2 separate regions of the Homo sapiens genome follow, and region 1 is linked to region 2. Evidence: promoter capture Hi-C in 16 types of primary human blood cells and fetal thymus (Javierre and others, 2016). All regions are on one chromosome and are shown on one strand. Each heading gives the region's core, a stretch centred on a gene start or on the middle of the fragment in contact. The rest is flanking DNA. Distances are from core to core; before and after follow the strand shown. Region 1 overlaps WRN (WRN RecQ like helicase). Region 2 holds the start of TTI2 (TELO2 interacting protein 2).

What was found. The method cuts DNA at HindIII sites, captures the fragments that hold promoters and counts their contacts. A CHiCAGO score of 5 or more calls a contact.
Region 1: a contact is called between a fragment that was not itself captured here and the fragment with the promoter of TTI2 in region 2, in 1 of 17 cell types (non-activated CD4 T cells). The highest score is 5.2, in non-activated CD4 T cells.

The regions. Positions count from the first base shown.
Region 1 is chr8:31,148,218-31,154,113 of GRCh38, reverse strand. WRN (WRN RecQ like helicase) reads right to left here. Exons shown (of 35, transcript NM_000553.6): 31 at 3,659-3,773. Among named protein-coding and RNA genes, the nearest start is that of WRN, 120 kb to the right of the region's middle. The HindIII fragment of the contact is 3,706 bases long and covers 2,781-5,896 here.
Region 2 is chr8:33,509,325-33,515,369 of GRCh38, reverse strand. It overlaps TTI2 (TELO2 interacting protein 2), which reads left to right and starts at 2,235. Exons shown (of 8, transcript NM_001102401.4): 1 at 2,235-2,288; 2 at 2,658-3,403; 3 at 5,438-5,624. The coding sequence starts at 2,757. SNORD13 (small nucleolar RNA, C/D box 13) reads right to left here and starts at 1,895; the gene lies at 1,792-1,895. RefSeq lists enhancers at 254-543, 2,064-2,203 and a silencer at 1,584-1,633. The HindIII fragment of the contact is 19,476 bases long and covers 1-6,045 here.

The sequences.
Region 1 (5,896 bases), core at 3,384-5,883, 2.4 Mb after region 2:
AAATGTTTAAAAGAAAAAATGGGAAAAACTGAAAAACAAGATTAATGAAAAAATAATGGAATCTTTTTAAAGGCTGAAATAAAGGTAAAGAGATAGAAAACTATTTTTTTAACTACACATAAAAGGTAGATGAAAACAGCATACTACAGTCATAATAAAACCTGTAACAGATGAAATTAATAATTTAAAGAAGAGCCTCGTCTCTTGATGAATGATATTGGTATCATTTTTATAGGTTATTTATCATGTGTTCTACTATATTATGTATACATATATGAGGAAATGTGTCCATGAGCTCTTCTTTTGGAAAGATTTATTTTTTGTTTCCATATTCTGTTATTAGGGAGTTTAAGAAATTTATTAGTTGAGTACTAATTTACTGCTTGGTGAGAAACATAAATGTTTCTGTTTTACTTTTTACATGCTATATATATGATGCCTAATGTTTCAATTATCTGACCCAAGGCAATAAAATGTGCTTGCCAAATACTTTGGGGGATTACATTTTACATGTGGAAGAATCTCAGAGCTAAACTCTCACATCAACACAAAAGATAATTTCAATCAAATAACCCTAGCAGTGGAGATTTCATGTTCTGAGCATACGGTGGGCCTAATAAAACAGTCCCAGGTGTTACATGTTTCTGTTTCTCTTTTACAGCTTCATAATAGCTGCATTTTGCAATTTATAGAAATCCCACCAAGACAAAATGGGTATTTACTGAGGAAGCATTGTTGGCTATTCAGACTGGTCACCCCACTATGGCAACACCATGGTCTAGGCCAGCATTTCAGTCCTCATCCTTGCAATCTCAAAAGTCTAATGTGTCTTGTTACAGGGTAGTTGGGTTTTGGGGAATAGAGCTGCACTACCCATCTATTGAGCTTGGTTTTATGTGTATGTGTGTATAAATATCAGTGTATATATTAGAAAGGAAATTCATTAATTTATGAGGCATACAACTAGACAGTTTCACTTGCCCCAACCAGTATGTTCTGTCCTATACAAGAGTTATACAGGAAGCCAGCTCACCTGAAAGTTGAGAACAAGTTTGGAATATAACAAAGACACTTTTTTTTTTTTTTTCTATCACTCAGGCTGGAGTATTGTGGCACAATGATGGCTCACTGCAGCCTCAAATCCCCGGGCTCAAGCAATCCTCCTGCCTAAGCATCCTAAATAGCTGGGATTACAGGCTAGCACCACCATGCCTGGCTAATTTTAAGAAATTGTTTTTGTAGAGGTCGGGTCTCACTATGTTTCCCAGGTTGTTTTCTAACTCCTGGCCTCAGGTAACCTGCCTGCCTTGGCCTCCCAAAGTGCTGGGATTACAGGCATGAGGGATTGCACCTTGCCATGAGGGAACTTCTGATAGTGCCTTAAGTAGTCTCTTAACAAAGATTAAGTTGAGGCATTTTCCTTGACAATTAAACTATAATATTCAAATCTAGTTAGCAAAAATGTCTTTTTATCTGAAGAGTGCTTAGGTAAGCTTTGCCAACTTTTGTCCTTATTGCCTTTTCTATTTATATCTTCCTATAATTGACCACTCATCTTTTTTTTTTTAAGGTTTATTGTGGGATATATCAAACATATACACGAGTCGAGGGAATAAGATGGGCACCACCCGGTTTCATCAACTGTCATTCATAGCCAGTATTATTTCATGAACATCCTTAGATATTTTCTAACTACCCTGTCCCTACCCCTGAATTTTTTTAAAATAAATAATATTTGTACATATTTATGCCATACATGTTCATATAGTCTTTTTTTTTTTTTGAGATGGAGTCTCGCTCTGTCGCCCAGGCTGGAGTGCAGTGGCACGATCTCGGCTTACTCCAAGCTCCGCCTCCCAGGTTCACGCCATTCTCCTGCCTCAGCCTCCCGAGTAGCTGGGACTAGAATACGATTTGATCACATTTTTGCTTACTAGAATCACATTCTTGCCCTACCTTCCTAAGAGTATTATTTCAGATTACTTTGCCAAGTATTTTGGATATCCTTAAACTCTTTAATTGTACATTTATGGATTATATCATTACTTTGTTCCAGAAATTCTCAAAATTCTCAAAAAATGTATTTATATAAAAATATTTTAGCATATTTTTCCTATTCGGCCATCTTAATGTGTTTAATATGTGTCATATTTGTAATTTTTAATGTGTATTGTGACAGCAAGAAATTTTACTTCAAAATTTAAAAAAAAAATAAAAGGCTAATGAAACTCATGAATAACAAAACTTGCTTAATAAACATTAAAGTTGTTTTTTTTTAAATAATTCATTTCAATTTGCAGAATAACCCAAGTATAATTTCTAATCACAGAAATCAGCAGTCATCTTCTCTATCCAGAAGGTTCATAAAGGTTTCATACCTATCCCTTGGGGAATTTACCTTTTCCCCTACTTCATTTTCCTCTTCTGAAGGGGAGTTAGGAGAGATCACTCATTCATTATTAAATAATATCACTAATTCATGAAAGAAGATACTACTTTCAAGTGTCCAAAGAGAGGGAACTTACTCAATTACCGCTGGTAGGTATGATATTCTTTCTCAAACTATTAAGACATTATAATTTCATTTCCAAAAACTCAGTAAGAAATAAGAATTTTCACATGATGTCTTATATAAGAGTATGAAAAAGAAAATTCAAAGTTGCCAAAGATACTCTATATCAAAAGAGGGAAATGCTACATTCAAAAAGCAGAAGGGTTTTCTACTTATAGTTAGAGAAAGATTTTTCTAAAGTAGGATCCAACTGTGCCTGCCCAAAGCTTCCAGGAGCTTCTTGGAAGTAAAAAATAATCCCTTAATATTGCCTTGAATGTGTTTAACTCTTTCAACATTTTATACTTATCCCATGTCTTCTATTTTCTAATGTCATCTGTTGTTTCCTGGATGTGGGGGAGGAAGTGTCATTTCCATTGTATAGCTGAGGAAATGGAGACCCAAGGAAATTAAAGGACATGTGCAGGTTCACCAGGTGAACAACTGTAAGGAAGAACTAAAGTCCTGATTCCGTGACTCCTAGTCTAGTAGTCTCCCCTCTACCTCCCACTGCCTCACCTTCTGCAGAGTATGCATTATAGAGTCTGCTACGTGGAGTTTAGAGAAAATCCTAAATGACATTTCTGGAAATGGTCACTTAGGGCAGAACAAGCAATAATAAAAGGATATGAAGGAAACACTATTAAAACTGAAGAGAATAATATGAAATCCACTTACTATCAAAAGACAGCATTACTGGAAGGGGAGGGAGATTAGAGAAGATGCTAAACCAAAAGAAAGTGGCTGAGCTCCTGACCAACTCATAGCAAGGATAACTTTCCAGCTTTAAATTCCAACTACCACATTTGAATGTAAAATTATAATTTATCAACCTAAAATAATGTTTCCAATTTAAAAACAAAACCTCCCAATGAAATAGAAAGACATCAGCAGCCTGGACAACTACTTTTTAGTATCATCTTTAAAAGTAGATAACTGACATGTTTTTACAACAGATTGACTGTAAAAACAATTTTAATTCATTTTCTAAGTGTCCAGTATGGAAATGCAAATAAAGTGAGCAAATGTTGCTTCTGGAGGGTACTTTTGAAATGGTTACAAAAAATGCTTATTCTCTAAGAGCTCCTGCAAACCACAGTATTTTACCTGAACACTATTTGTTTGGCAGAAATGTTTGATGACTTCCAACAGAGGGGCCAACATGGCAGCTTTGCCTTCAGAAACACCATCAATCCTTTTTACGTTTTCAACCGTAGTTGGTCTGTGTTTAACAACAACAACAACAACAACAAAAAGGTCAAGAAACCACTGAAACAGTATCACTCCAGCAATATAGCTGATGTTCAGCTTCCTAATGATTCTCTCAATAAATGTATAGTTTTTCCAACAACCAAAAACAACGTATAATACAACTAATCATGTTTTATAATTTCTTTCTTTGCTTTCCACCATTTAAAGATTTGTCTTGCCCCCATCACCACAAAAACACACTGTTAATTGGTAAACAGGACATTGTCATAAAGGAACAGGTTAACATCTCATATATTCACTTTATTACTGATTTTATTATTATTTTTATTGTCATGAAAAGGAAAAATATGAGGCTTTAACTGGGAACAACTAAGAGGCTAAGAAAATCTCAAAAGAAAGTCTCATTCATTATTTTCTTCTACAAAGTGTTTACCTGTAACAGTATATCTGCCAATTCCTTCAGACTTTTAGCTCAATATTTCTTATTGTGTCCAATATCCAAGAACCCATTCGATGCCCTCCTTCTAAAAATCTGCCTATCTAATGATTATTATTTTTCATTAAATATCTCCTCTGGGCCAGGCACTGTGGCTCACGCCTGTAATCCCAACAATTTGGGAGGCCGGGGCGGGTGGATTGCCTGAGCTCAGGAGTTCAACACCAGCCTGGACAACACAGTGAAACCTCATCTCTACTAAAATACAAAAAATTAGCCGGGGGTGGCAGCGCGCACCTGTAGTCCCAGCTATTCCGGAGGCTGAGGCAGGAGAATTGCTTGAACCCAGGAGGCGGAGGTTGCAGTGAGCCGAGATCGCGCCACTGCACTCTAGCCTAGGTGACAGAGTGAGACTCTATCACCAAAAAAAAAAAAAAAAAAAAAAAAAAAAAAAAAAAACACCTCTATTAAAGTATGGTCTTAGAATATTTATTTATTTTTATTTTTTATTTTTTTTTTAGACGGAGTCTCGCTCTGTCACCCAGGCTGGAGTGCAGTGGCGCGATCTCCGCTCACTGCAAGCTCCGCCTCCCGGGTTCACGCCATTCTCCTGCCTCAGCCGCCAGAGTAACTGGGACTACAGGCACCCGCCACCACGCCCGGCTAATTTTTTGTATTTTTAGTAGAAACGGGGTTTCACCGTGTTAGCCAGGATGGCCTCGATCTCCTAACCTCGTGATCCGCCCGCCTCGGCCTCCCAAAGTCCTGGGATTTACAAGCGTGAGCCACAGCGCCCGGCCAGAATATTTATTTTTTAACAAAAGAATTAGTGTCAGATGTAGCACTGTGTAATGTCATTAGAAAATTCTGCACTCAAGTAACATCTATTGGATGCAATTTAGTGACAGAAACAATTTTTTAAAAGGAAGTAAAAGACAAATACAATTACCAAGCAACTATTCTTGGGAAATAATTTCTTCTAAATATTTAATGATCACCTCCTGTTTATGAGGCATTGTGCTAGGTGCTACAGGAGACACACAAAAAGGTAAGGAGCTAGTATCTTTATTTGGAGTTTAAAATCTAGAAGATATAATAATACTTGTTTACCACTAATTACAAAAAAATAAAATATAGCATTGTGTGGTAAGTGCTACAGAAGCATCTTTAGAATTCATCTGAAAGTCCTCTATGAATTCAAGAGAGAGGAATTACTTTGCTGATAAGATCATGAAAGACCTTCTCATAGTCTTTACAGTAATAAAGCGAGAAATAGTAATAAAGCGAGATCTTCAAGAATTCTTAAAAGGAGTTTTGAGGAATCAAGGAAACTACAAGGAGAAGCAACACTGTAAATAAATATATGGAAGTTGAAAATGGATCTTCAACAAGTGATAAACAATCCAGGTAAGATAAACCATTTCAAATTCTGTAACTTAGAGGGAAAAGTAAGTTTAAGTTCATAAATAGAGGGCCTTGAATTCTAAGCTAGAAAAAAAACATTTAAGCAGAAGTAAGATATGATAAAGGAAGATTTAGTTTGGTACTCATATATCAGATGAAACAGAGAGAGAGAATGAAGGGTTAATAGTTAAGAGGCTTCTGCAACAGGCCAAGGGAAAACAGTCAGAATTAACGTGGTGTCATTAAGAAGGAGGAGGAAGGCATAGACAGGCAACAAGGAACCCGTTTTACAA
Region 2 (6,045 bases), core at 986-3,485:
TGGTAGGGCGCGCCTGTGGTCCCAGTTACTGGGAGACTGAGGCGGGAGGATCGCTTGAACCCAGGAGTTTGAAGCTGCAGTGAGATACGATGACGCCACTGCACTCCTGCCTGGGCCACGGAGCAAGACCCTGTCTCTAAAAAAATATTTTTTAATTAAATAAAAAATAAAAAGAAATGAAGGCACAGAGAGGCTACCGAACTTTTGCCCAAGGTCAGACAGCAAAATGGAAAGAAGGGCAGGCGAGTAGGCAGCAAGACACCGCAGATGGGACAGTTGCAAGTAGTGCACCAAGAAGCTGGTGCGCTCCCCAAGGTGGGACGAAAATACTGTATGTCCCTCTACCCCATAACCACCTCCTCGCGAGGACAAAGGACACCTGACACGTCACCCCTCCCTCGCCCCTGCGCGCACACACGCCCCTCACCCTACCCCAGGTCAGAAGACCCCGAAGGGCTTTCTCTGGACTCCTGGAACCCTGGAGGCGCAATTGACGCCTTAGAGGCTGAATAAGAGTCCCTCTCCGAGCAGCTGGCGACACGTCTCTCTCGCGCCACCCCTCCCAGGGTCCGAAGCTCCCGCCTGTGCAGTGGCACAAATGAAGTTTGCCTCCTCGGGCTCCTGCGAAACCGTGGAAGCTATGAGAGTCACAAGGTCCTAAATGGAAGCAGCTCCTCGGGAACTGAAGGCCAATCGGACGCAATTCTACCCTCCAGGAAAGCGCAGGAAGAGGGAACAAGCAATGCCGACGCGGCGTGGGGGACCCAACACAGGGCGGTCGCACAGGCGCGACCCTTCTCGCGCCTTCTCAAAACCCAAGCAAACACCACTGGTTCCTACACCCGCCGAGCCCGAGTCTGCAGCCTCCAGCTCCCCTGGCCCGTTCCGGGCGCCGCCTGCGACCCATGCCCAAGACAGCGCTCTGCTGTCCCTGCGCACCCGGCGCCGACACTGGCGGGGCGGGCCCAAGCCGGATCCGCCAACCCGACGACCCACCTCCCTCAGGGCTGCCCCAGACGCCAGCTGGGGGCTTCTACCTTGACGCTAGAATTTGAATTTTCAAACGCTTGTGGCTACAGGCTTTAAAACGCTAGCTCCAGAAACCAGCTAAAGTATTGCATTGAACAGAAAACCAAATACCGCATGCTCTCATTCATAAGTGGGAGCTAAACATTAGGAACACGTGGACATAAAAGTGGCAACAACAGACACTGTGGTCTACTAGAGGGGGCAATGAAAACGGGCTAAGCTGCACTCCAAATCCCAGCATCCCACAACATATCCAGGTAACAAACCTGCGCAGGTATCTCCCAAACCTAAAAAATTAAAGCCATTAAAAAGCTCTGCATTGGCCAGGCGCGGTGGCTCACGCCTGTAATCCCAGCCCTTTGGGAGGCCGAGGCGGGCGCATCACGAGGTCAAGAGATCGAGACCATCCTTGCCAATATTTATACAAAAATTAGCTGGGCGTGGTGGCGCGCGCCTATAGTCCCAGCTACTCGGGAGGCTGAGGTAGGACAATCTCTCGAAAACCGGAGGTGGGGGTTGCAGTGAGCCGAGATCGCAACACTGCAACTCCAGCCTGGCGACAACGCGAGACTCCGACTCACAAAAGAACAAACACAAAAACACATTACACAGTTGGACAACGGAAAAGCACCCGTGCGTGTAGCATACAGCCAGAAAAAAGGGCACCCGAAAACGGTAAACACAAAGCCATGAAACTAGGCCACCTGTTATCATAAGTAACAAGCCCACAAATACAAGTGTTAAATCGATCCTTGAAGTTCAGGTCAGACGGGTAATGTGCCCACGTCGTAACAAGGTTCAAGGGTGGCACATCTCACACAAGCGTATGAACACCCAATCATCACGCTCATGAACTACAAAAGGATCATCTTATAGTTGACATTAAGGAGTGCCAAGTATGTGCCACTAATTTACACATAGGGTGACTACCGTAATGCGATACATCCATTCTTCACGTATAAAATCCTGGATATTTTCAAAGTCCCACTGAGATTCTGTGATTATTCTTTTGTTTCTACCTTAGCAAAGGAAAACAGAAACACAATTAGCGAGCGGATTATTATATATGCAAATTTATTCTCTATAGTTCCACCTCTCCGTCATTTTCCCGAGCCTGGATCTTTATTGCTTTACGACCATACGTCGTGAAATAAGAAGGTGTTGCGGCAGTACTGGCGGAAGCTAGCCTTGCGTTTTGCGGCAGCAATATGAGCTAGGTCCGGATCCTGTTAGACACCGGCGGGCGCGAGCCGTTGCAGGTACCTGGGGGTGGTTAAGTTGGTGACATGGCTCAGAAGTTTATTTCTTTAAATTTTTAAGTTTTTTTTCTTTTTAGTCTTCAGAAAGGCAACAGTAGTCTTTTAACGTCACTGTTAAAAGTGTAAGACTCTTTTACTCCCTGAGAGTCCCCTTTCCCTTTCTTGCGTCCTTTCCTCTTTATTCTTTTTTTTTTTTTTTTTTTTACTGAGACGGAGTCTCACTCTGTCGCCCAGGCTGGAGTGCAGTGGCGCGATCTCGGCTCACTGCAAACTCCGCCTCCCGGGTTCACCCTTTCTCTTTATTCTTATCCCGGTCAGACTCGCCCCCTCCTCCAAGACATCTCTCTGTTTTATTTTATTTGATTTTAGTTCTCTTTGGGTGATCGCTCCTTCCCTCTTCAACGGATCCCTCCCCGCCTCCATCCTCGTTCTGTGGGAGAGACCAGCCTTCTGGTGCTGCAGTCAGGAATGGAGCTTGACAGCGCTCTGGAAGCCCCATCGCAGGAAGACTCTAATTTGTCCGAGGAGTTGTCTCACTCCGCCTTTGGACAGGCCTTCTCCAAGATTTTACACTGTCTTGCCCGCCCGGAGGCACGACGAGGCAATGTAAAAGATGCAGTTCTTAAAGACCTCGGTGATCTAATAGAAGCCACAGAATTTGATAGGTTATTTGAGGGGACTGGTGCACGGCTCCGCGGAATGCCGGAGACACTGGGGCAGGTAGCAAAAGCCCTGGAGAAGTATGCAGCCCCCTCCAAGGAGGAGGAAGGTGGAGGTGATGGGCACTCCGAAGCGGCCGAGAAAGCAGCCCAAGTTGGGTTACTGTTTCTTAAACTGTTAGGGAAAGTTGAGACTGCTAAGAATTCCCTGGTCGGCCCTGCATGGCAGACGGGCCTGCATCACTTGGCAGGACCCGTTTATATTTTTGCCATCACACACAGCTTGGAGCAACCATGGACCACTCCGAGATCTCGGGAAGTTGCTAGGGAGGTGCTCACCTCACTGCTTCAAGTTACTGAATGCGGTTCTGTGGCAGGATTCCTACATGGAGAAAATGAAGATGAGAAAGGGAGACTTTCGGTGATACTAGGGCTTCTCAAACCCGACTTGTATAAGTGAGTACTCCTGCCCTTTGCCACCGACTTGAGCCTCACAGTTTTTTATTTTTATTTTTTATTATTTATTTATTTTCGAGACAGAGTTTCACTCTTGTTGCCCAGGGTGGAGTGCAATGTTGCGATCTCAGCTCACTGCAACCTCCGCCTCCTGGGTTCAAGCGATTCTCCTGTGTCAGCCTTCGGAGTAGCTGGGATTACAGTTGCCCGTCACCACGCCTGGCTGATTTTTTGTATTTTTAGTAGAGACGGGGTTTCACCATGTTGGCCAGGCTGGTCTTGAACTCTTGACCTCAAGTGATCCACCCGCCTCGGGCTCCCAAAATGCTGGGATTACAGGCGTGAGCCACTGCGCCTGCCCTAGCTTAATTTTTTATAGCGTTATACCTCAAAGGAAGCTCAATTTCTTCAGCAGTAAAATAAGGGTGCTGTAACCACGGATCTCTTAAGGCCCAGAAACGTTGTGATTTGCTATAAATGACATAACTGGATAGTGGCAAATTGGAGGTCATAACTGAGATGTTCGGGCTCAGTTGTCCAATGCTCTTTCCAGCCCTTAGGACGACTGCCTAGGAAAATTGGAAATTCTGTCCCACTTACTTGGAGTTAATAATTACAAAATGTGGCCGGGCGAGGTGGCTCACTCCTGTAGTCCCAGCACTTTGGGAGGCCGAGGCGGGTGGATCACTTAAGGTCAGGAGTTCGAGACCAGCCTGGCCAACATTGTGAAACCCCATCTCTACTAAAAATACAAAAATTAGCTGGGCATGGTGGTGGACGCCTGTAATCCAAACTACTCGGGAGGCTGAGGCAGTAGAATCGCTTGAAACCAGGAGGCAGAGATTGCAGTGAGCTGAGATCGGGCCACTGCACTCCAATCTGGGCAACAGAGCAAGACATCGTCTCAAAAAAAATTACAAATTACTAGAATTTGGATGGGGGATTTAGAGAGGATTTAAACTTATGGTTTGAATTTAGACTTGGGGATCTTGAATCTCATTACTGCTTGTTAGAGAAGGATGACTATCAGCTAAGAAAGCCATGTTTAGGATAAAAAGTGAAAAGCACCTTTAGATTACTGTTAGCTGAAGTTCTTTCAATGAGTTTCCACTTGCTACTTTGTTAGCACTGGAGTAATGAGAGAAAAAGTATCTGTAACTGTCATTTTACCAGGAACACGGAATTAAAAGGCTTGATTTTGAGTTTCGTGCTTCTATTTGTTGCTCTGAGTAGGACCAGATTAGACAGTTATCTGAATCTGTTTGTTTCTAATATAAAGATAATATACTTGGCGGAGTGTGGTGGCTGACACCTGTAATCCCAGTACTTTGGGAGGCCAAGGCTGTCAGATCACTTGAGGCCAGGAATTCAGGACCAGCCTGGGCAACATGGTGAAACCCCGTCTCTACTACAAATATAAAAATTATCCGGGTATGGTGGTGCAAGTGTGTAATCCCATCTACTCGGGAGGCTGAAGCAGGAGAATCGCTTGAGCCTGGGAGGCGGAGGTTGCAGTGAACCCAGATGGTGCCACTGCACTCCAGCCTGGGCAATAGAGTGAGACTCTATTTCAAAATAAATATAATGTACCTATTACACAGTAATTATTTTGAGAATTAGTTAAGTCGTGTGTACACTCACTTTATTAGCGATTAACAGGTGTTCAAGTGTTGATTCATTTGTTTCCTTAGTGTAATACTACTAATCCATTTCCTTTACTCCTCCCTCCCTTCTCAACATACCTTCACCATCCATCACCATAAGTCCTTTATGTAGCTCTGGTTATAATTGACTCCTTCTCATTGGATAGGCTGTAGACCCAAAGCCCTGGATGATTATTTGGTGTAAGTTATGGAAGTTATTTTAATCCAGATCTTAGAATGTATGATATAGAATCAAGAGTTATCTTATGTGCGATGTATTTTTTTTTTCAAAGACATGAAAATACTCTGTTTAGCTTGAAGTAGTTTTTTTTTTTTTTTTTTTTGCTACTTATCACCATGTCACTTAATGTAATTCTATGTATTCACTTAGGGAATCCTGGAAGAATAACCCTGCCATCAAACATGTTTTCTCATGGACTCTGCAACAGGTCACTCGGCCCTGGCTGAGCCAGCATCTGGAAAGGGTACTTCCCGCATCATTGGTCATTTCAGATGACTATCAGACTGAGAACAAAATCCTGGGTGTACACTGTCTCCATCACATTGTGCTTAATGTGGTAAGCAACCTCTGGCTTGTCATCTGTGTTGACAGGACAGACTGAGTCATTCCTGGCTGTTCTTCATTTCTAGTAATGCTAAGTCATTCAACTTTACTTATTTGTATTTTCTCCTTATATTTTTCCTCTATCCACCTGGTAGAAGTTGTATCCTATAGGTAATGTAATAACTAAAATGATAATTATAGAAGAAACAGGAAGGCATGGGTCATTATCAAACTGAATAACCAGATGTTGAGAACTGGTCAACAGTTGATTTTCTTTCTTTCTTTTTTTTTTTTTTTTTTTTTGAGAGGGAGTCTCACTCTATCACCCAGGCTAGAGTGCAGTGGTGTGATCTTGTCCCACTGCAACCTCCACCTCTTAGGTTTAAGCAATTCTCCGCCTCTGCCTCCCGAGTAGCTGGGATTACAGGTGCGTG